Regions from separate parts of the Homo sapiens genome. Here all the other regions are linked to region 2. Evidence: promoter capture Hi-C in human tissues and cell types (Jung and others, 2019). All regions are on one chromosome and are shown on one strand. The core of a region is centred on a gene start or on the middle of the fragment in contact, and the rest is flanking DNA. Distances in the headings are between cores, read along the strand shown.

Evidence for each region. The method cuts DNA at HindIII sites, captures the fragments that hold promoters and counts their contacts. A contact is called where the count stands out against the background at its distance.
Region 1: a fragment that was not itself captured here is called in contact with the fragment with the promoter of PAM16 in region 2 in 1 of the 25 tissues and cell types used here (dorsolateral prefrontal cortex).
Region 3: a fragment that was not itself captured here is called in contact with the fragment with the promoter of PAM16 in region 2 in 2 of the 25 tissues and cell types used here (liver and stomach).
Region 4: a fragment that was not itself captured here is called in contact with the fragment with the promoter of PAM16 in region 2 in 3 of the 25 tissues and cell types used here (H1 embryonic stem cells, dorsolateral prefrontal cortex and mesenchymal stem cells).

The regions. Positions count from the first base shown.
Region 1 is chr16:4,048,500-4,054,576 of GRCh38, reverse strand. The region is part of intron 2 of ADCY9 (adenylate cyclase 9); the gene reads left to right. LOC124900373 (a long non-coding RNA gene) reads left to right here. Exons shown (of 2, transcript XR_007064957.1): 1 at 1-542; 2 at 756-4,305. Among named protein-coding and RNA genes, the nearest start is that of ADCY9, 65 kb to the left of the region's middle. The HindIII fragment of the contact is 8,638 bases long and covers 1-6,077 here.
Region 2 is chr16:4,347,244-4,353,051 of GRCh38, reverse strand. It overlaps PAM16 (presequence translocase associated motor 16), which reads left to right and starts at 1,731. Exons shown (of 5, transcript NM_016069.11): 1 at 1,731-1,820. The coding sequence starts at 1,818. The region is part of intron 27 of CORO7-PAM16 (CORO7-PAM16 readthrough); the gene reads left to right. RefSeq lists an enhancer at 5,203-5,703. The HindIII fragment of the contact is 27,496 bases long and covers 1-5,808 here.
Region 3 is chr16:4,066,239-4,072,250 of GRCh38, reverse strand. The region is part of intron 2 of ADCY9 (adenylate cyclase 9); the gene reads left to right. Among named protein-coding and RNA genes, the nearest start is that of ADCY9, 47 kb to the left of the region's middle. The HindIII fragment of the contact is 6,066 bases long and covers 852-6,012 here.
Region 4 is chr16:3,913,397-3,918,836 of GRCh38, reverse strand. No RefSeq gene overlaps it. Among named protein-coding and RNA genes, the nearest start is that of TRIDDENT, 34 kb to the left of the region's middle. The HindIII fragment of the contact is 5,064 bases long and covers 900-5,440 here.

The DNA of each region.
Region 1 (6,077 bases), core at 2,896-5,395, 300 kb after region 2:
AGAAAAAAATCCATTTAATCAGAGCCATACTTGTTGATTACTACAGGTGCTTCCCGTATCTAATACCTCCAGCAAGAAGGTTTGCGAAATGGGCAGAGAGTAATAGGAAGAGTTTCAGGAAGATGGTTTGAGTGAAAATCATTTCAGAACCGAGCCCTGCGAAGTCTTGGTTTCTGCAATCCACCACAGTTTGGGAAAATCGGGAATTTTGTTTAGTCCATTTCTATTTTTGTGCACCACAAATATGTAAACAAAGCTGGGATCTTCGTCGGGGGCGGAGGGAAGGGCGACAGAACCCTGACATCTAATACTGGTCATCGGTATTTCCATGTGTTTCCTGATCCCATTGTCTCTGCTATTTAAATTAATTAATTCCACAAGTATGCACTCAGTAAATATTGTGAGCCAGGCACTATTCTCGGCTCTGTGGTTGCATCAGTGAACAAAACAGACGCTAATCCTGCTTTCGTGAGCCATCTATAATAGAATGGGCGAGTCAAGAAATTGACACATGCATTAGAAAAATATGTAGCGTGTCGCTGGTAAGTGCTTGAGAGCTCATCAGGGAAGGGCAGGAGTTTGTGGAGTGGGGGTGAGGGATGTGGGGTGGGGCGGGGCAAGGGTGGCAAGAGGCCTGGGGCTGCTGGTTGCAACTGTAACCAGAGTGGCCAGGGAAATCCTTGCTCCTCTGGGTAATGCCCTATCCAGAAGACCCTTGCAAATTTCTAAAATGCTGTGTTTTATTACCGAGAAAGAGTCGTCTGGGAGCTCTCCGAGGCAAATAACTTTTGAAGTTGGCATGAGCAGGATATTGTGCAATGGGGCTCACTGGCTGCGTCCCAGGCCTCCGCATCTGATGTGAACCACAGCTTTGCAATCGGGTCCCCGTGCCATCCAAAAATATTTTGTGACCTTGCCGGTTGGCAGTTTTTTAAAAATGTTATTTTCAGTCTCCAAAAAAGGGAAACATCAAAGTGCAGGCTGTCCACTCCTGCCCTTCTTGATAGACACAGACAGCTGGGCCACACAATCAGCCATTGTGGCGACAAGTGCCCAACTGTTATAAATAGACGGCGGGCTCGCACGTGAAGCGCTCCAGAGGAAGGGCAAGTGCTCTGGGGACACTGCCAACTGCTGTTTCCGTCGAGAGCTCTTCTCAAAGATCAATATTATTTTATGTCTCAGTGACTGAATTTGAAAAAACGACTGTGAAAGCACCTGGTAACTTAACTGTCTCCAGGATTCCATTCCAAACGCATCTTCTCTCTTCACTGTTAATCTTAGATGTTTCCCATGCTTATTTAGTAATCATTGCCTGACGGCCCACTTCACTGCGATTTACAGTCTCTTGCGGCTCACTTGAAATGGTAGAGTTATGGATAACCGCGCTGGTGTATGTGCGTGTGATGCGTGGCCGGAAGCGCATGCCCATTGAATAATCACGTTCGTCCCACATCTTAGCCCCTCTTCCAAGACATGTTTACTATCGTTTACGTGTGACATGTCAAAACATCTTAAAACTATGCCACGCATGTAATAGGCTCTCAGTGATTAAAAAATCAGTTTGTCTCTTAAGGAGAAAAGAATAACAGCATGTGACTCTTGTGAGTCCCTGACAAAGAATCTGTTGTTCCCCGTGCACTTGAAGAGCCGCTCATGTCAAGAAGCAACTTGTGATTATGCAATGTGTGACTTAAGGCATTGTCAGATGCGTTCGGCTGAAACGGGACCCCGCCCCAGCAGTTTGCCTTACTAAGTTAACATGGTAGGTCAGATTTTAGTATTGTAGAAAAAGCCACATTCAATATTCTTTGAGTAGCATATTTATTTCCTAGGGCTACTGTACCAAAGTACCTCAAACCAGGTGGCTTCAAACAACAGAGTTACACGCTAGTTGATATCTAGTGATTCAAAGAACAGAATTCCACACTAGTTGTTATCTAGGAATGCGGAGTGAGTGATAGAGGGGGTTTTGGTGGCGTTATATTCTAATTTTGAAGTAAGTTTAAATTTACAGAGATGCTCCCAAACAGTATAAAGAATTCCCAAATACTCTTCACCCAGATTCCCTGAATTAACATTCCGACATGTTTGTCTGTCTGTCTCTCCACATACACACATCCCTTTTTTCCGGAATAATTTGAGAATAGACTGCAGAGAGTGCCTCTAGATTCTCCTGTGTGGGTTTCCTAAAAACAAGGACGCTGTCCCGGATAGCCTGCACCGACCTGCCCAAATCAGGACGTGGGCACTGTCACACCATGCCACCAAATGCAGAGGCCCCGGAGCCCGCCCAGGACCACAGGCGCCGTCTGTGTCAATGGCTCTCGAGTCTCCTTCAATCTGGGGCTGTTCCTTCGTCTCTGTCTTTCACGACCTTGACATTTTTTTAAGAGAACAGGCCAGTTACTTTGTAGAATGTCCCTCGGTTTGGGCTGGTCTCATATTCCTTCATGATGAGAATCAGGTGGTAGGTTCCTGGCAGGAGAGTCCCTGCAGGGTTGTCACGACAGGAACGCACACAGGTCTGATCAGTCCCATTTCTGGAGAAGTTAACTTATCATTTGGTTGAGGTGGTGTCTACCAGGTTTCTCCACTGTAAAATTAATTTGTTGGTATTTTGTAATTATCAGTTAAAAAGTACTGTTTCTGGTGGGGAGATTTTTTGGGGACTCGGAAAATATCCTGTTTCTCATTAAGCTTTTTGCCCATTTGTTTTAGCATCCTGGGATGATTCTTGCCTGAGGGAATTAGTATGAGCATTGCCAAATGGTGATGTTTCTAGTTGCATTGTTTCTTTTGCATTGATTAGTTGGCATTCCACTGCAAGCTGGAGCTTGCCTGCTGTCTTTCTCTCCTTCCTATCAATACACTCATAGACTCCTATTTTACCCATTGGGTTATAATTCATTACCATTATCATTTGCTTCGATACCCAGATTGTCCCAGATTTGGCCAAAAGCAGCGCCTCCAAGCTGGCCCCTGTGTTCTTTTGATGTGTTCATGTCATTCTTTGAGCACATCTTTACTTCTTCTTCTTTTTTTTTTTTTTTTAGATGGAGTCTTGCTCTGTTGCCCAGGTGGGAGTTCAGTGGCGTGATCTCTGCTCATTGCAAGCTCCGCCTCCCGGGTTCACGCCATTCTCCCGCCTCAGTCTCCCGAGTAGCTGGGACTACAGGCGCCCGCCACCACGCCCGGCTAATTTTTGTATTTTTAGTAGAGACGGGGTTTCACTGTGTTAACCAGGATGGTCTCAATCCCCTGACCTCGTGATCTGCCTGCCTCAGCCTCCCAAAGTGTTGGGATTACAGGTGAGAGCCACCATGCCTGGCCAGGTTTTTTCGTTTTTGTTTTTGTTTTTTTTGAGATGGAATCTCACTCTGTTGCCCCGGCTGGAGTGCAATGGCGTGATCATGGCTCACTGAAACCTCTGCCTCCTGGGTCCATGCAATTCTCCTGCCTCAGCCTCCCATGTAGCTGGGATTACAGGCGTGCGCCACCACACCCAGCTAATTTTTGTATATTTAGTAGAGATGGGGTTTCACCATGTTGGCCAGGCTGATCTCCAACTTGTAACCTCAGGTGATCTGCCTGCCTCGTCCTCCCAAAGTGCTGGGATGACAGGTGTGAGCCACTGCTCCCGGCCACATGTTTAGTTCTTGGTTCTAGGCTCACCCGGAACTTTCCTTGCTCCAGCCCTGGAATCAGCCATTTCTCCAATAAGCCCTGGTTCCTTTTAGTAGAAAGTGGTTTTTAGAAACCAGGATCTAAGTATTAGGTGTGTTCACGCTACTGGGCTATTACGGCTACAAGGACTTCTCAAGCAGCGTAGTTAGGAATTTTTTTTTTTTTTTTTTTTTTTTGAGACGGAGTTTCACTCTTGTTGCCAAGACTGGCATGCAGTGGCAGGAACTTGGCTCACCGCAACCTCTGCCTCCCGGTTCAAGCAGTTCTCCTGCCTCAGCCTCCCTAGTAGCTGGGATTACAGGCATGCGCCACCACGTCCGGCTAATTTTGTATTTTTAGTAGAGACGGGGTTTCACCATGTTGGTCAGGCTGGGTCTCAAACTCCTGACCTCAGGTGACCCATCCATCTTGGCTTCCCAGAGTGCTGGGATTACAGGCATGAGCCACCGCGCCTGGCATAGCTAGGAAATTAAACATATGCATGTACTTCCCTACACGTACACATATGTTTGTACATACACACACGGGCACACATGCGTTTGTAGTTCTTTGTATCCATCTGTCCCGCTCGTATCTATGTATCCATTCATCTCATATAAAAATCATGATACCATCCAAGTCAAATGGTTTGTTTCAGCTTTCTCCCCTTTCCTTGGCTGTGCCCCTCTTTTCTAACAATAACAGTAACAGCTCTTATCATATTAACTGTTTTTATTTATTGACCCTTGTATGTCACCAGTCTTCTGACATGCAGGCCATCCAGTCCATGTTCCTGGCCCAGGAACATGGCAGCCAAGGGTCCCCACCCCCACTTCGGCCCCCAACAGTGGACTCTCGGGATAGTTCTTTTTTTTTTTTTGAGACACAGTCTCACTCTGTCACCCAGGCTGGAGTATAGTGGTGTGATCTCGGCTCACTGCAGCCACTAACTCCTGGGTTCAAGCAGTCCTCCCACCCTAGCTTCCTGAGTAGCAGGGACTACAGGTGTACACCATCATGCCCGTCTACTTTTGTATTTTTTGTAGAAACAGGGTCGGTCTTACCTTGTTGCCCAGGCTGGTGGATAGTTCTTTATAGCAGTAGCCTAAACAGAAAAACATATACAACATAAGCTAAGAAAAAGGCCTCCCTTATCGATATTTCTGGGTTAATCTGAAAGATTTTGAAGTCTGGAAGAATCAGCTGGTTGTTGGTAAAGGGACGGTGGACATGAAGGATGCGGAAGGGATGGGTTGGAGGCGGGAGGTGAGTTTCATGTGGTGTTTTTGACTCAGAGGGTCACTTTTATTGTTCTGCCTTGTAGTCAGAAGAAAAATCTTTTCACGTGGTTTCGGCTCAGAAGTATGTTAGAAAGTAGACTACAGAGACTGAAGGTGACATTCCAGAGACTTTTTAAGGATAATCTGGCCAAAGGTGTTTACTATTTGATTAGCCAGCATCCTTGGGCTCGGCTAGGGTCTTGGTCTGGTCTGAGAACATGTTGGGGGATTGTGCCAGTGTCGGTGGTGGGTGCCTGTGCCTGGTCATCTATGGGCAGCTAGGGGTGGGTGCTGCCCCTTCCGACTTTCTCTCCACTGCAGAGACGAAGCCTTCAGCAGCATTTCCCTGGACCCTCTTCTCTCTGGTCCCAGGTCAGGTTCTGTACAGCAATGGAAAGCAGGGGAGAGGATGCCCACGCTGTGCGTGGCCGTTTGGAGCAGACTCAGGGACCAGTGGGACCTCCTCTTCTGGGTGAGCTTGGCAACCACTCTTTTAGGAATTCCAGTTTGTAATGCCTTCCGGGTGAGCCCTGTGAGTCGCTTGCTCTTAGTAGTGTCCTTTGCTGCCCCAGCCTTCTGCTTCCCTGTATTTAAAACCTTTCTGAGCCAGGATTACGATTTCCTGATACCATGACTGACCCTTGGTCGTTATGAGTCCTGATGGTCCCAGGAGCTTTTCCTTCATTTGCTTGGGTTTTGAGTTGTGAGCTGGAGACCAGGGGTTTTGCTTGATGGGGACATTCCTGGCTCTTCTCCTGGGGAGTGACCATGGGCCCTGCCTAGGTGAGATCCTCTGGATTGTGAGGAGGGACTTGAGCAGCCCTACTAGAGTGCCGTCTATGGGAACCCTCAGCATCGCCTGTCCAAGCCAGCATCTAGTGGACGCTCACGCTGTGTGAGACACTGAGCTTATCCAGCAAGGGCAGAAATGGCAGCTCTTGGGAAAGAAGGGAGTGGGGCATCGCTGTGTCTCCTATTATTTGCCATTGTGGCCTCCCTCTCCAGGTGCACCGAGGGGCCTATCTGTGTGATTCTTGCAGGGGTACTGACGTCCGTTTCATCTCACCCGTGTCCCTCTACAAGTGCAGGAGTTGTAGGGCTATGTTATTCTTAGGTAGCTTAATGGATCCA
Region 2 (5,808 bases), core at 482-2,981:
CATGATCATGCTACTGTACTGCAGCCTGGGCAACAGAGTGAGACCCTATCTTGAAAAAAAAAAATTTTTTTTTGGCTGGGCACGGTGGCTTACACCTGTAATCCCAGCACTTTCGGAGGCTGAAGTGGGAGGATCACTTGAACCCAGGAGGTGGAGATCGCAGTGAGCCAAGATTGGGCCACTGCTCTCCAGCCTGGGTGACAGAGCAAGACTTCATCTCAAAAAAAAAAAAAAAAGGAAAAATAATTTAAAAATAAAAAACCGGTTGGGCACAGTGTCACATGCCTATAATCCCAGCACTTTGGGAGGCTGTGGCGGGTGGATCATTTGAGACCAGTAGTTCAAGACCAGCCTGGCCAACATGGTGAAACCCTGTCTCTACTAAAAATTCAAAAATTAATGGGGCATGGTGGTCCATGCCTGTAATCCCAGCTACTCAGGAGGCTAAAGCATGAGCATCGCCTGAACCTGGGAGGTGGAGGTTGCAGTGAGGCAGGATTGTGCCACTGGACTCCAGCCTGGGCGACAGGGTGAGACCCTGTCTCAAAATGATAAATAAAATAAATAAGTAAATTATGTGGTATGGTAGAGGGTGATCAGAGTCTTGGAAGAAAAATAGAGACAAGAAGGGAGGATAAGCCAGTCACAAAAGGCTGCACATTGTATGATTCAATTTCTTCTTTTTTTTCATTTTTCATTTTTACCTTTTTTTTTTTTTTTTTTTTTTTTGAGGCAGGGCCTGACTCTGTCACCCAGGCTGGAGTGCAGTGATCACAGCTCACTGCAGCCTGTACCTCCCGGGCTCAAGAGATCCACCACTCAGCCTCCCAAGTAGCTGGGATTACAGGCACCTGCCACCACACCCGGCTAATTTTTGTATTTGTAGAGATGGGGTTTCACCATGTTGCCCAGCCTGGCCTTGAGTTCCTGACCTCAAGCGATCCACCTCGGCCTCCCAAAGTTTTGAGATTGCAGGCATGAGCCACCACGCCTGGCTTGTATGATTCCATTTCTATGAAATGTCCGGAACCTGTGAATCCATAGAGAGAAAAATGAGTGGTTGACAGGGGCTGGGGGAGGGGGCTGGGGAGTGACTAATGGGTGATGAAAACGTTCTGGAACTAATAGTGGTGACAGTGGCACAGCTCTGTGAATAAAAGGCATTGGACTGTGCACTTGAAAATCATGAAATCTACAGTGTATGGATTATATCTCAATAAAGCTGTTACTTTTTTCATTCATGGAGGGCAAGTCACGGCGTTTTAAGGGGTCCAGGTGGGCCTCATTGAGGTGACATTTGAGCAAAGATTTGAAGAAGGGAACGAGCTTCTCAGGCAGGAGGAATGTGGATGAAACCTATTTTGAAGTTTTCTATTTTCTAAAGTATTTTTGAGAATTTAGCATCCTACTCCATATTATGTTCATTGATTTCATATAATGTTGCATTCCCAAATATTTTGGCAAAATCAAGGGCAGAAATCGCCCCACGTCTGACCGATGTGCTTAGCTGCTCCAGCGCACTGGGGTAAGCACGCGGGCAATTGAGACTCCCGGTAACGCCCCTTGCCCTCCCAAGCCCGCCCCCAGTTATCCAGAGCCCGACGCAGGCTCAGTCAAACCCCGCCTCCGACCCCGCCCCGAGCCGCTAAGACGCTCCCGGTGGCCCGCCCTTAGACTGAGGCAATGCGCATGCCCAGCGCCGTATCGCGCACGCGCTCTCTGCGGCTTTCCTTGACCTCTGACCCGCCGACCACGCTTGATCCCCGGCCGCGGGGCCAGGAAGTCGGAGTTTGAGCCCCGGAGGCAGAGCGGCTGCCATGGTGAGCCCCGAGTCGGGCGCTACCGGGGAGGGGAAGCCGAGTCGGGCCGGGGGCCGGGGGCCGGGCGGCGAGCTCCGGGCTGGGCGGCGGGCGCCGTGCGCCCCCTGCGTGCCCGGCGGGAAGCATGGTCTGGGGGCGTTGCACCCGGGGGAATCGAGGCCGGCAGCGGCGGCACCGGCGGCCTCAGGGCCAGGGAAAACCGTCTGCCTGGAAGAGGCCGGGCAAACGTGGTCGCGCTGTGCCTAGCCCGCGTGTGAGCGAGCAGCCGTGGGCAGCGGTGGAGCATGAGTCTGGCTGGTGAGCGCCTCCCCTGCCCTGGAACCTTACAGCGCTGCAGAGTCGATGTTGCTGCCCTGTTGTTATCCCCAGTGGAAAGCTGGCCTTTCCAGGGAAGTGGCTGACCTGGGACTTGAACTAGGCCCCGAGACACCGAGCACGGAGCGTTTGTGTGATATCGTTGGCACGTAGAGCCAGTCAACAGACCTGCGCCACACTGTCAGGTCACCTAGGGTAGCTTTAAAAGTGCAGGTTTGGCTGGGCGCGGTGGCTCACGCCTGTAATCCCAGCACTCTGGGAGGCCGAGGCGGCGGATCACGAGGTCAGGAGTTCGAGACCAGCCTGGCCAACATGATGAAACCCGGTCTCCACCAAAAAATTTAAAAAATTAGCCGGGTGGGGTGGTGCGCGCCTGTAGTCCAAGCTACCCGGGAGGCTGAGGCAGGACAGACGCTTGAACCCGCGAGACAGAGGTTGCAATGAGCCGAGATCCGCCAGTGCACTCTAGCCTGGGCGACAGGGTGAGACTGCGTCTCAAAAAAAAAATTATATATATGTATTATATATACCGTATACATTTATGTATACTACATATTATTATGTTATATATATTTTTATATATCATGTATTTTATATATATATATACACACACACACACATAATATATACATATGTTAGCCAGGCATGGTGGCACACACCTGTAATCCCAGCTGCTTGGGAAGTTGAGGCGCCAGTATCGCTTGAACCCAGGAGGCAGAGGCTGCAGTGAACCAAGATTGTGCCACTGCACTCCAGTCTGGGCGACAGGGCAAAACTCTCTCAAAAAGAAAAAGAGGGGGAAAAAAAAAGTTCAGGTTCTTGAGCTCTATCCCTGGAGGTTCTGCACACGTAAGTTCCCCAAGTGACTCTGTTGCAGCTGGTTCGGGGAGCCACTTCTTAACTAACATAGTAATAAGGATAATGTAACAGCTAACGGCGTACAAGTGCCAGCCCCTGAGCTAAGGCTTTATGTAGAGTCTCTCATTTAGTGTTTATGAAGTCCTGCTGTCATTGTCCTTATTTTACAGATAAGGAACCTGAGCCCCAGACAGTTTTGACTCCACCATAGTCATGCATCCCATGGTGTCAGAGACCTCTTTTGAGCCCAGCTCTGTCCCAAAACTCATGGGGTTTTTTTGGTTTGTTTTTTGAGATAGGATGTCTGTCTGTCGCCCCGGCTAGGATGCAGTGGAGCGATCCTAGCTCACTGCAGCCTTGAACTCCTAGGCTCAAGCCATCCTCCTACCTTAGACCCCCAAGTAGTTGGGCCTACAGGTGAGTGCCAGCACACCTGGCTAATTTTTAAATTTTATGTAGAGGTGGGGTCTTGCTGTGTTGCCCCAGATGGGTCTCCTAGGCTGGAGTACAGTGGTACGATCACAGCTCACTGCAGCCTCAACCTCCTGGGGCTTAGGTGATCCTCCCATTTCATCCTCCCCAGTAGCCTCAGCCTCCCGGGTAGTTGGGACAACAGGCATGCTCCACTATGCCCAGCTAATTTTTTGTATTTTTTGTAGAGATGCAGTTTCGCCATGTTGCCAGGCTGGTCTCAAACTTCTGGGCCCAAGCAGTCCTCCTGCCTCGGACTCCCAAAGTGCTGGGATTATAGGCGTGAGCCACCGCACCCAGCATGACAGTATATTAACAGGAAAAGAAAGTGCTGGCCGGGCACGGTGGCTCACACCTGTAATCCCAGCACTTTGGGGGTCTCAGGCGGGTGGATCACGAGGTCAGGAGATCAAGACCATCCTGGCTAACATGGTGAAACCCCGTCTCTACTAAAAATACAAAAAATTAGCCGGGTGTGGTGGCAGGCACCTGTAGTCCCAGCTACTCAGGAGGCTGAGGCAGGAGAATGGCTTGAACCCGGGAGGCCGAGCTTGCAGTGAGCCGAAGGTCGCGCTACTGCACTCCGGCCTGGGTGACAGAGCAAGACTCCGTCTCAAAAAAAAAAAAAAAAAAAGAAAGTGCTAGGCCGGGTACGGTGGCTCACGCCTGTAATCCCAGCACTTTGGGTGGATTACCTGAGCTCAGGGGTTCGAGACCAGCCTGGGCAACACGGTGAAACCCTCTCTGTACTAAAAATACAAAAAATTAGCCGGGCATGGCAGCGTGTGCCTGTAGTCCCAGCTACTCAGGAGGCTGAGGCAGAAGAATTTCTTGAACCCGGGAGGCAGAGGCTGCAGTGAGCCGAGATCGCACTACTGCACTCCGGCCTGGGCGACAGAGCAAGACTCCATCTCCAAAAAAAAAAGAAAGTGCTGTCGGAAGGTATACATGGGAGAGCCTGGAAAGGGTTTCACCCGGGGGATGGGGAATGATATTAGGTCCTGAGGGATGTTGGGTTTTGACAGGATCAGGGTAGAAGGGAGGATGTTCAAGGTGGAGGAACTCAGAACAGCAAAGGCCCTGAGGAGTACAGAAGTATGAGAGCGGCTCTAGGAGCAGAGGGTGTGGCTGCAGCGTGGAGAGAGGTGAGGTTGAGAAGTTGAGGCCAGACCAGGCGCTGTGAATGCCAAGCTGGGGAGTGGACCAAATCTGCAGGCGGCGGTGGAGAATTGTGTGTTTACTGGGAGATGGCCAGAACCCTCCCGCAGAAGGGTTAGGAGGCGCTTGGAAACCCTGCCTGGGGACATGGAGTTCATGAGACAGCAGATTGGGCAAAGCTGCAACAGCCATATTCATTCAGATGCACCAGGGGCACTTACTGCGCCAGCCACTGGCCAGGTCCCTGATGTTGTGGCACGTGCTACAGTTGTGGTCCTGACCTTTCTCCTGTCTAGTTGTGATGCCCGTATCTATTCTCAGGGGCCCTGGGTGACCAGAGTGTCCTTGAGAGTGAGTCTCAGGCTGTCTGCTTATCTACCCAGAGCCTGGGGCTTGGCCTCAAAGGCGCATTGCACGCGAATCTCAAAGACACAAGTCAGTGTAAGCCCCATTGCTGAGTGCCTCCCACAGCACTGTCTGTGGTCCCAGCTGCTGGGATCTGGTCCTGCCTTGGGCCAGGTTGCTGCCCAACAACGAAGTGCACATGCTGCCCCCACGCATGCCAGGATTGGATCCTGTGCTTCTGACTGCTGCTCTCTGACAGCCGCGTGGCCTGAAGTTGGATGCCAAGTCAGCTGGGTCCTCTCACCTGGGACCCTCAGGCCCAAGTGTCAGTCGGTGGACTATGGGATGTTTGGAGCCTCTGGGAGGGGCCTCAGGCAGTGGTTGTTTTGGTCACCCATGGTAGCCACAGCTGGCAGAGCTCTGCTCCCTGTGAATGAGCTCTGAACTCAGCCTGACCCATGGCAGAAGCTCAGGGGATGTTGGGGTACTGGATAGGTGGATGAGGGGCTTGCCTGCACCGCCTAGTTCTGGACCTGCCGCTGTTTGTCCATGTGGTGTTAATGGGCATTGCCTCCTGAGGGCCTTACTGTCCTCTTGTGAGGAGGGTGTTATTCTCTCCATCTTGCAGTTAAGAAAACTGAGGTAGGCTGGGCACAGTAGCTCACACCTGTAATCCTAGCACTTTGGGAAGCCGAGGAGGGCAGTTCATGCGAACCTAGGAGTTCAAGACCAGCCTGGGCAACATGGCGAAACCCCATCTCTCCAGAAAAGTACATTTAGCCAAATGTGGTGGCGTGTGCTCAGCCTCCAGAAGTTATGAAATTTCCACCTACTTGTGAAA
Region 3 (6,012 bases), core at 2,635-5,134, 280 kb after region 2:
TGTAATCCAGCTCTTGTAATCTCACATGCCCTCTTCTTCCTTCATGGTCCCTGAGCCTTTAAGGAGGGTGCTTGATACTGTATAGCTTTAGCAGCAGTGCCTTGGTCATGGAAAACAGATCGGGCCCAGTGGGATTCCAAACAAGGGAGATTCACAGGCTTTTAAATCGTCTTCAGTCTTCAGAATGCAGTGGCTTTGGTTCTGTCAGAATAGGCAAAACAATGTGAGATATATAACATCGATCACTCGGATAGTAGAATTCTGTGCACACAGAGATTGCAATAGAAAGAGAATCGCCTGTAATCCCAGCTACTCAGGAGGCTGAGGCGCGAGAATCGCTTGAACCCGGGAGGTGGAGGTTGCAGGGAGCCGAGACCGCACCACCGCACTCCCGCCTGGATGACAGTGAGACTCTGTCTCAAAAACCAAACAAAAAAACCCAGAATTCGTGGGCCAGAACAACAATGAAAAAAGAACGTATTCTGTTAAGAAGCCAACTAAAATGCATCATGATGAAAATTAAAACTCGGTTCTTCTTTAGAGACTTGTTGCAGCCAGGAAATGGTTCAGGATTAGCCCAAATTGTAGGCAGATAATAAAAACTCACAAACAATGGTTAAGGCTAGAATCTAAATTTTTCTTTCTCCAGTTTCCCCATTTCTACCAGGGATAAATTATATATATAATAGTAAGACCAATTTATTTGCAAAACAAATTTTAGTTGCTTTATACTTGGCCTGAAGATTTGCATCAAATGTAGCAAGAATTGTGATCCACCATACGGACCCTTTTTAAGTTGGCTTTGCAGGAACCTTTATAAGGAATTTTGGATTTGACTTTTTAAAAGCCTCAATGCCAGATATTGATCTGTTTTCAACTTTTTTGATTTTTTTTTTTTTTTTTTTTTTTTTTTTTTTTGGAGACTGAGTTTCGCTTTTGTTGCCCAGGCTGGAGTGCAAGTAGCACCATCTCTGCTCACTGCAACCTCCGCTTCCCGGGTTCAATTGATTCTCCCGCCTCAGCCTCCCGAGTAGCTAGGATTACAGACATGGATCACCATGGCTGGCTGATTTTTGTATTTTTAGGAGAGATGGGATATTACCATATTGGCCAGGCTGGCCTCGAACTCCTGGCCTCAAGTGATCTGCCCACCTGGGCCTCCCAAAGTGCCGGGATTACAGGTGTGAGCCACCACGCCTGGCTACTACTTGGTTACTTTGTAACCCCGCCTCTTTGATGGGTCAAGAAAAGTTGTGGTTATATTATTTATCTTGGTTTTTATTATTATTATTATTTTATTTTTTGAGACGGAGACTCTCTCTGTTGCCAAGACTGGAGTGCAGTGGTCTGATCATGGCTCACTGAAGCCTTGACCTTCTGGGCTCAAAGTAATCCTCCCATCTCAGACTCCTGAGTAGCTAGGACTACATGCATGCATCATCACACCCAGCTCATTTTTATGTATTTTTGTGTGTAGATGGGGTCTTATGTTACTCAGGCTGGTCTGGAACTCCTGGGGTCAAGTAGTCCTCCTGCCTCGGCCTCCCAAAGTGATAGGATTACAGGTGTGAGCCACTGCACTTCGCTTTTTTCTTTTTAAAGAGAAAGGATCTCTCTATGTTGCCCAGGCTGGACTTGAACTCCTGGACTCAAGCGATCCTCCTGCCTTGGTCTTCGAAAGCACTGGGATTACAGGTGTGAGCCACCAGGCCCAGCCAGTTTTAATTTCTGTTAGGTGGAATGACATTCCAGGTTTCTAAAAATAACTTCTACTTGGTTATTTTTCAAAAGTTTTGTTGAGTTCAGTAATTATATAAGGTTTATAACATAATATTATTTGAAACTTTCATCCACATCCTATTCTTTACTGGTAGAGAAAAGCCACATATAAGAAATACATGTGTGTTTGTCTTTTATAAATATATGTTACCCAGTTTTCCAGTTACTAGCTGCAAGTTTTTTTTCCAGGTCATAATTTGGAGAAAAATATATGCGTGAAAATTATAACGATAAAGCTTATTTTCTATACAACAAACAGTGAGTGATATGGAAATGTATGTCCTTACTAGTAATTTTAAAAGTACAAAAGAGAATGCCTTAAAAGTACACACACACACACACACACACACATACACACACATACATATTTTTTTGAGACAGAGTCTCACTCTGTTGCCGAGGCTGGAGTGCAGTAGCGCAATCTTAACTCACTGCAACCTTTGCCTCCCGGGTTCAAGCAATTCTTGTGCCTCACCCTCCTGAGTGGCTGGGATTACAGGCATGTGCCACCACGCCTGGCTAATTTTTTTGTACTTTTAGTAGAGACAGGGTTTCACCATCTTGGGCAGACTGGTCTCAAACTCCTGCCCTCAAGTGATCCACCTGCCTCAGCCTCCCAAAGTGCTGGGATTACAAGTGTGAGCCACCATGCCTGGCCGCATTATATACTTTTTAAGGCAGAGAAAATTTTCTAAAACTTGATGGGTGGCCTGTTGTTGCTGGTTCACTTCTTCTAAAGAACAGAAGTAAGAACTGTAACACTGTCCGAATCCTGGGAGAGTCGCCTTAGAAGATGGTCCTGTAGATACAAGAGAATAATTTACTCAATGATACGAATATAATTGAGAATAGCAAAAATTGAACAGCAGCCAAATTGGTGATGAGTGAGGTAACTCTGGTAAGTCACCCTGATAGAATATATTCCATTTATTCATTGTTCATAGAATATATTCTATTTATTCGTTGTTCTTCCAACCTTTGTTGAAGCCCCACTCTGTCAGACTCGGCACCAAGTGTCTGAGATGCCTTCGCTCATTACATCTTCACGGCTCCCCCGAGAAGTAGATGTTACTTTCATTATCTGCATTTTACAACCAAGGAACCGGGATATTAAATTACTTCTCTAGGTCATGCAGCTAGTGTGCGGTGGGCTAAATGTACAATCCCCCTAATAATAATAATAATAATAATAATAATAACTTACAACAACAGCATATTGAAATAAGAAAAAAAATTTGAAAAATCTCTTTGATTCGTAAAGATGAAAAAATTGATTCTAGTTGTTGGTGGTGAGAGGAAAGGGAACGCAGGCCCTCTGAAACACTGTTGGTGGGACTACGAATTGCAGAAACCTTTTTGAGGACATTTTGCATATCTTCAGAATTTCACATGTCATGCCATTTGACCAAGTCCTTTCACTTTTAGGGATTTACCCTATGGCAATATTTGCACAAGTACAAAAATGTATGTATGAGAATCTTGGTTACTGTCTTTCTTGTAATAGCAGAAAGTGGGAAATCACTTGAACATCTATTAGGTGGAAATTATGGTCTGTCCTTATGGTGGAATAGTTGTAACCATTTGTAAGAATGAGATAGATCTGCGTGTACCCATATGTGCAAAAGAGCCACCGTGAATTGTTTTTTTTTTTTTTTGAGATGGAGTCTCGCTTTGTCACTCATGCTGGAGTGCAGTGGCTCGATCTTGGCTCACTGCAAGCTCCGCCTCCTGGGTTCACACCATTCTCCTGCCTCAGCCTCCTGAGTAGCTGGGACTACAGGCGCCCGCCACCATGCCCAGCTAATTTTTTTTTGTATTTTTAGTAGAGACGGGGTTTCACCGTGTTAGCCAGGATGGTCTCGATCTCCTGACCTCATGATCCGCTCATCTAGGCCTCCCAAAGTGCCGGGATTACAGGTGTGAGCCACCGTGCCCGGCCATGAACTGTGAATTGAAAAAAGCAAGCAACTGTACCATATGTAAAACATGATCTCATTTTCCATAAAATAGCGTGTTTAATAATGTGGGTCTAGAGAGATAATAATACATGCATTGAAGGATATATACAAATTTATATATAGCGCGTGTTCTTTACAGTGGGATTAGAGGAACTTGTACTAATATTTTTTTTGCTTTGTTTTTTTTTTGCAACAGATATGATTTTATTATTAGAAAAACCAGATTTAAAAAAAGCCATTATATGAGTTTTCCTAGTTGGCAAAAATTCATTATATGAGTTATCCTAGTTGGCAAAAAAGGCACTTAAGTGAGGAAAGGAGATGCAAAATCATCCTTGACTGTAAAGGGGTGCAGGTGGGATATGAGCTTGTCTGGGTATGAGAATATCATGTTCTATGCATTTTTTATTTCCTAAACTGCTTAAATTATAAATCATTAATGGTAATTATTAAAAGACTTTGTTTTCCCTACAATTAGAAAAACTTATTTGAAGACCTCAAATCCCAAAAGTGAAAGAGGAAAAAAAAAATTATTGCCACGGTTTTTCCCTTAACCCATTTAATTAAAGAATTAATTAAATTCTATGTTGCAGTTTTTCACCAAAAGTGCAACATAGAGTTAGTTCAGTCACCACAAAAAGATTCAGAGATTGGATTTTGCTGACTTAGTGAAGCTACTAAGATACAAATTCACAAAGTAAATGTTTGCACACATTAGCTACAGTGGCAAAGTGTTTGGGAGGTTGCAGTCCACCTCCCGGTGAGGGAGATCCATCCTTTTGGTCAGCAAATGCCCTGAATTGACCCTCTCCCGAGGGTCAGCTGCAGGCTGTGCTGATCTCGGAACTTCTCTGGGGGTCCAGTTCTGTTTAGGACAGACCATAAAATACATCTCTCTGGGGTGGGTAGAGCTACCCCAGTACTTACCCTGGAAATGGACTCAGCTGTCCCTGGAGGGTGACTCAGTTGAGGCAGAATTGTCTTAATTTGGTAACTCTCCTAATTTGAAGCAGAAGTCCTGGGTTTGACCCAGACCCATCTTGGTCTGGAGTGGAGTTGTGGTGTGTCTAATGCTGCCAGATCATGTTCACTGTTAGAAGCCTGGGGAAGGGAAGGAACTTGCTCAGCCAACTCAGAAGCAGGCATAGCGCAAGAGGGAGGATTTTAAGAATTAGTATTTTACTATCCTTGTGAGCTGGTGTTATTGACAAACATTATTTCAATCTGTTTAACGATTTTAAGAATTAGTATTTTACTACCCTTGTGAGCTGGTGTTGTTTCTAAATATTATTTCAATCTGTTTAACAATTCCATTTTTTAAAAACCCTGCACTTTGGGCAGGAGTTCGTATTTCTAATTTAGGATGAATTTTTTCTCATCTCCCCCCATTCTGTGATTCTAATTTTTTTTAAGTTATTTCAGTTCTTAAAACTCTTTCATAGAGCTGGGCATCAGCCGCAATTTTCTCTAAATCTGTCTCAGATGAGCACTTGCAGTCTAATTGTATAAAAGATCAGGAAATTTAGTATTGAAGTTGCACTTGCTTTGATGTAATGATGAATGTTTCCTTCATCTGAAGAGCATTTGAAATTTATGGAAAAGTAAATCTTTTTGAATTATATGTAAATGAAAACGTTGGGATGAACCAGGTTATGTTTAACTGGGCAGTTTTGAAATTCTAATAGCTCCTACAAGCGGGAATCTTTTAAAGCTAATTTTGTGATATGAATTGTTTATTATTCTAAAGAATAATATTCACTTTTTTTTCATGGATCTCATGTAAATGTTACTGGACAATATGACCCATCTCTTTAAAAAGTGAAATTGTTAGTGGGAAGCTGTGGCTCACACTTATAATTCCAGCACTTTGGGAGGCTGAGGCGGGAGGATCACCTGAGCCCAGGCATTTGAGACCAGCCTGGGCAACAGCGAGACCTCATTTCTACAAATAATAAAAACATTAGCTGGGTGTGGTGACATGCATCTTTGGTCCAAGCTACTCTGGAGGCTGAGGTAGGAGGATTGTTTGAACCTGAGAGGTGGAGCCTGCAGTGAGCCCTGATCGTGCCCCTGCACTCCAGCCTGGGCAACAGAGTGAGACCTCCATCTCTAAATAAATAGGTAAAGGTAAAATCACTGCTCAGTCACTAGAGAGAGGAGAGAGAAAAGTAAATATACTCAAGGAGTGGGAAAAGCTTTGAAGTGGCATATCAAAATGAGAAAAATAAGTGTTTTTTAGAGAGAAAAGATTTGTGGAGAATTATATATTAGAACT
Region 4 (5,440 bases), core at 2,182-4,681, 440 kb after region 2:
AGTGGAGGCAGGGCGAGATCACAGGACTACAGGATCGGGGTGAAATTAAAATTGCTAATGAAGTTTTGGGCACCATTGTCATTGATAACATCTTATCAGGAGACAGGGTTTTGAGATCAACCGTCTGACCAAAATTTATTAGGCGGGAATTTCCTCTTCCTAATAAGCCTGAGAGCGCTATGGGAGACTGGGGTCTATTTCACCCCTGCAGTCTCGACCATAAAAGACAGGCGCACCTGGGGGACCGTTCATAGGCCTATACCTCCAGGTGTGTATTCTCTTTCTCAGGGATGTTTCTTGCTGAGAAAAAGAATTCAGCGATATTTCTCCCATTTGTTTTTGAAAGAAGAGAAATATTGCTCTGTTCTGCCCGGCTCACCGGGTGGTCAGAGTTTAAGGTTATCTCTCTTATTCCTTGAACAATTGCTGTTATCCTGTTTTTTTTTCAAGGTGCCCAGATTTCATATTGCTCAAACACACATGCTGTACAATTTGTGCAGTTAATGCAATTATTACAGGGTCCTGAAGTGACATACATCCTCCTCAGCTGACAGGATTAAGAGATTAAAGTAAAGACAGGCATAGGAAATCACAAGGGTATTGATTGGGGAAGTCATAAGTGTCCATGAAATCTTTACAATTTATGTTTAGAGATTGCAGTAAAGACAGGCATAAGAAATTATAAAAGTATTAATTTGGGGAACTAATAAATGTCCATGAAATCTTCACAATCCACCTTCTTCTTCCATGGCTTCAGCCAGTCCCTCCATTTGGGGTCCCTGACTTCCTGCAACAACGCCTGGCTAATTTTTTGTATTTTTAGTAGAGATGGGGTTTCACCATGTTAGCCAGGATGGTCTTGATCTCCTGACCTCGTGATCCTCCTGTCTTGGCCTCCCAAAGTGCTGGGATTACAGGCGTGAGCCACCACGCCCGGCCACGGGTTGGGATTTTTACTGTAAGGGTAAAGGGAAACCATGGAAGGGTTTTGTGCAAAAAGTGATATGATCTAGGCACAGTGGTGTGCCTGTTGTCCCAGGTAGTTGGGAGGCTGCTGTGGGAGGATTGCTCAAGGCCAGAAGTTCGAGTCCAGCCCAAGCAACATAGTAAGAGCCCCATCTCTTTAAAAAAAATTTTTTTAAATGTTTAACAGCATACAAACCGATTTCTTTGATCCTTTGTTTAGAAGAGAGCACAGGCCTCCCCAGTGTGACAGGGTCTCTCGTGGGCAAGGCCAGGGGAAAGGCAAGCCTGGGGAAAAGGAGGGGGCAGCCAGGAACCTGGCTGGAGGGCCGGACCCTGAGTGGGCATAACCACAGTCCAAACCTTGCCGCCATGAGGAAGGGGCTGCTGAGACCTCAGTGTGGCAAGGAGCTGATCAGACTGAGGGTCCAGTGGACATCTGGCGCCTTGTGTATGTTGGCTCAGTAAATCCTGGCACGTACCTGCAGATGAGTCTATCAGTTATCGATTGCTGTGTAACAAGTTACCCCCCAAAACATATTAGCTTAAAACAACAAAAATTCATTATCTCACAGTTTCTGTAGTCAGGAATTCAGGAACATCATGGTCGTTTTAATCCAGGTGGTTCTGGCTCGGGGTCTCTTGTGAGGTTGCATTTACGATGTCGGCTGGGGCTGCTATCATCTGAAGGCTCAACTGGGGCTGGAGGAGCCACCTCCAAGATGGCGCCTTCTTGTGGCTGCTGGCTGGAGGGTTTGGTCTTCACCAGTGGCCAACACAGTGCTGTTTTAATGACATAGCAGCTGGTTTTCCCCAGAGGAGGGATCTGAGAGCAAGGGAGGGAAAAAGTAGGAACCCACAGGCCTTTTATGACCAGTCCCCAAGGTCACACAGTGTCACCCCTGCCTTATCATTTAGAAGTGATCCACTAATTCCATCCCACATTCAACGGCAGGGGATGAGGCTCCACCTCTTAAAGGGAGGAATATCAAAGAGTTTGTTGTGGATATATTTTAAACCACAGCAGGCAGCGGCATTCACATCCCAGTTTAAGAGTCTTTAATTAACTTGCCCCAGATCACACACAAGGAAGTGGTGCGAATGAGATTAGAATCCAGCTCCCGGCCAGGTGTAGTGGCTCATGCCTGTCATCTCAGCACTTTGGGAGGCTGAGGCAGGAGGATCACTCGAGTCCAAGCGTTTGAAACCATCCTGGGTAACATAGTTAGACCTTGTCTCTACCAAAAATAAAAAAAATGAGACAGGAAGATCACTTGATACCAGGAGGTCAAGGCTGCAATGAGCCATGATTGTGCTACTGCACTCCTGCCTAGGTGATCTGGGTGATGGGAGTAAGACTCTGTCTCAAAAAAAAAAAAAAAAAAAAAAAAAGAACCAAGCTCCCCAGAGCCCATGTCCTTTCTCTGGTGCATGCTGCCCTCATGGGAAGAAGGCAGTCATAACCCGGCCAGCTCTCACCCTGACCTTGCTACAGCCCCTGAGAAGATGTCACTGAAGGCTGTGTCTATGTGTGCACTCAAACAAATTGGCTGCTACGGCTTCACCAGGCTGCATCTGCTCTCTCTGGACTACTGGTGGCTACTATCATCACCAAAGCAGTGTCTGTGCCCTGTTTTATAGGGTAAATCAGCTCATCTTTACTTATGGCGTATATGCACCCCCAGGTTCCTCCTGCTCCCTGGCTACGTATGCCACAGGGTCTGAAGAGCCAGAGGGGTGTGCGGTGTTGGTATGTGATAGGCCATGTAACTAACTATTCCAGGTCAGCTCACTGGGCCTGGCTCCTCCCTTCCACGGGTGAGTGATTTCCTGGAAGCTCCTTGGCCTGTGCACAAGCTTCTGGTGAGGCCCGACCCACCAGCCCAACATACATTTCCAAAGCATCTGAGTCCATCCCAGGTCCCAGCCTGGGCCCAAAACTAGGGTTTCCCCCATCAGGAAACAGGGAGAAGGAGCCCAGGAAGTTTGAGCCAGGGCCACCTGTCATGCTTAAGGCACAAACATGGGTCCAGATGCCACCGAACGGTACATTGCCTGTGCCAGACTGGCTCAAGGCCCAGAGGGGCCAACTGCCAGGTGGATCTCCATGTGCCCAGCAGAGAGGGGCTGGGGAAGGCAGAACCCGAGGTCTCCTCTCTCCTCCTCTCCCTGCCCTGCGTCCATCACCAGGACGTGCTTCGTGGTGGAAGAGCCAGAGGGGCGTGCAGTGTTGGTATGTGACAGAACTTGTGTGATCACTCCCTGCTATGCAATTAAGTGCAGATTCCCCACGCTGTGGGGAGTGTGCCAGCCCCGCCCTCTGTGCGGTGTGGGACTCAATGCTGTCACTGTGAGATCGGATGGGCCTTGGTGTCCTGCTGTCCTTGGATATGTTCCTGAGCTTAGGGTGATCCATTCGTAAAAGGGGAATAGGGGCATCTACTTCCCAGAGCGGTTGTGAGGAGTCAACAAGATCATGCGTAGAGAGAGCTTGACTCAGCCCTCCCGGTAGGGTAAGCACTCAGTGGGTGTCTGCTGTTGGAGGATGGTCCAACTATTGTCACCATTGTCACCATTCAGAGGGGTGGCCACGTTTTGCACATTAATTGTCATGGTGTGGCCCTAGGACTACTTCTACAGGGCTGGACTTCTCGCCATCAGTCCAGGTGTGCTGTGACCCCATCAAGATCCATTCTTACTCTATGTGGGCCTTCAATTTGCACCATACAAGTCAAACTCCCGAGAGAGGCTGGACTGAGAGGGAAGGATGAGGTCAGGGCCCTCAAGAGGGCAGGACAGGAAGCTTTGTGGATCAGGAGAGAGTGGGGCCCATTCACATCAAATGCGTTTGTCCCAGAACTGTTTCTACCCTCCAAGGAGCGTCTTGCAATTGAAGTAGGTAAACTCCGCTGTTGTTGTTGCCCGTGGGAGGTCATATACGTCCTGGTTTGCATGGGGGCTATTTTGGAGGGTTCAGAGTGGTAAAGATGAACAGAAGCACCCATCGAAGGTGATGGCCAGACGCCTGCAGGAACGGGTGGAGGAGGCAGAGAGAAGTGGAAGAGGGACAGAGGACTAAAGGAAAGAAGAGGCCACCAGGTAGCAGGAGAGCACCAAGGAGGCGCGAGTCCTGGATCTTGCATCCGTCTCTGTGTCGTGGGAGAGTCCAACTCCCACTGCAGCTCACCCCAGCAAGGCAGCTTGACAAAGCTCTGCTGTCTCCTGATCCCGGTGACAAACAACCCGTCTGCTTGTTTTAGGGCTGCCAAGGCCTGTTGTACAACGCAATGGGGTAAACCCTGCAGACATCAGCCCTCCTTATTCATCTGCTATTTGGCGCTAAGCATTCAGTATTTATCTTGGTCAGGCACAGTGGGTCACGCCTGTCATCCCAGCACTTTGGAAAGAAGAGGTGGGAGGATTGCTTGAGCCTGTAAGTTCGAGACCATCCTGGGCAACTTAGTGCCCAGTCTCTATGAGAAAAAGTTAGAACTGCCCGGGCGTGGTGGTCCACATGTATAGTCACAGCTACTCAGGAAGCTAAGGCAGGAGGATTGCTTGAGCCCAGGGATTCAAGGCTGCAGTGAGCTATGGTCTTGCCACTGTACCCCAGGCTGGATGACCGAGAGAAACTCTGTCTCTAAAAAAAATCAAATAAATAAATAAAAATCTTGGCTGGGCACAGTGGCTCATGCCTGTAATCCCAGGAATTTGGGAGGCTAAGGCGGGTGGATCACCTGAGGTCTGGAGTTCGAGATCACCCTGGCCAACATAGCAAAACCCTGTCTCTACTAAAAATACAAAAATTAGCTGGGCATGGCGGCACGCGCCTGTAATCCCAGCTACTCGGGAGGATGAGGCAGGAGAATCGCTTGAATCCAGGAGGCGGAGGTTGCAGTGAGCTGGGATCATGCCACTGTACTCCAGTCTTGGAGACAAGAGCAAAACTCCGTCTCAAAAAAAAAAAAAAAAAAAAAAAAGACTGGGTGCGGTGGCTCATGCCTGTAATCCCAGTACTTTGGGAGGCCGAGGCAGGCAGATCACGAGGTCAGGAGATCGAGATCATCCTGGCTAACATGGTGAAACCCCGTCTCTACTAAAAATACAAAACATTAGCTGGGCATGGTGGCGGGCACCTGTAGTCCCAGCTACCCAGGAGGCTGAGGCAGGAGAATGGCATGAACCTGGGAGGCGGAGCTTGCAGTGAGCTGAGATCATGCCGCTGCACTCCAGCCTGGGCGACAGAGTGAGACTCCATCTCAAAAAAAAAAAAAAAAAAAAAAAAAAAAAAAAAATTCTTACTGCTGCAATTGACTAGTCTTACTTTTTTTTTTTTTTTTAAATATTATTGCAGGCCAGGCACAGTGGCTCACGCCTGTAATCCAAGCACTTTGGGAGAGGCTGAGGCAGGTGAATCACTTGAGGCCAGATGTTCAAGACCAGCCTGACCAACATGGCAAAACCACATCTCTACTTA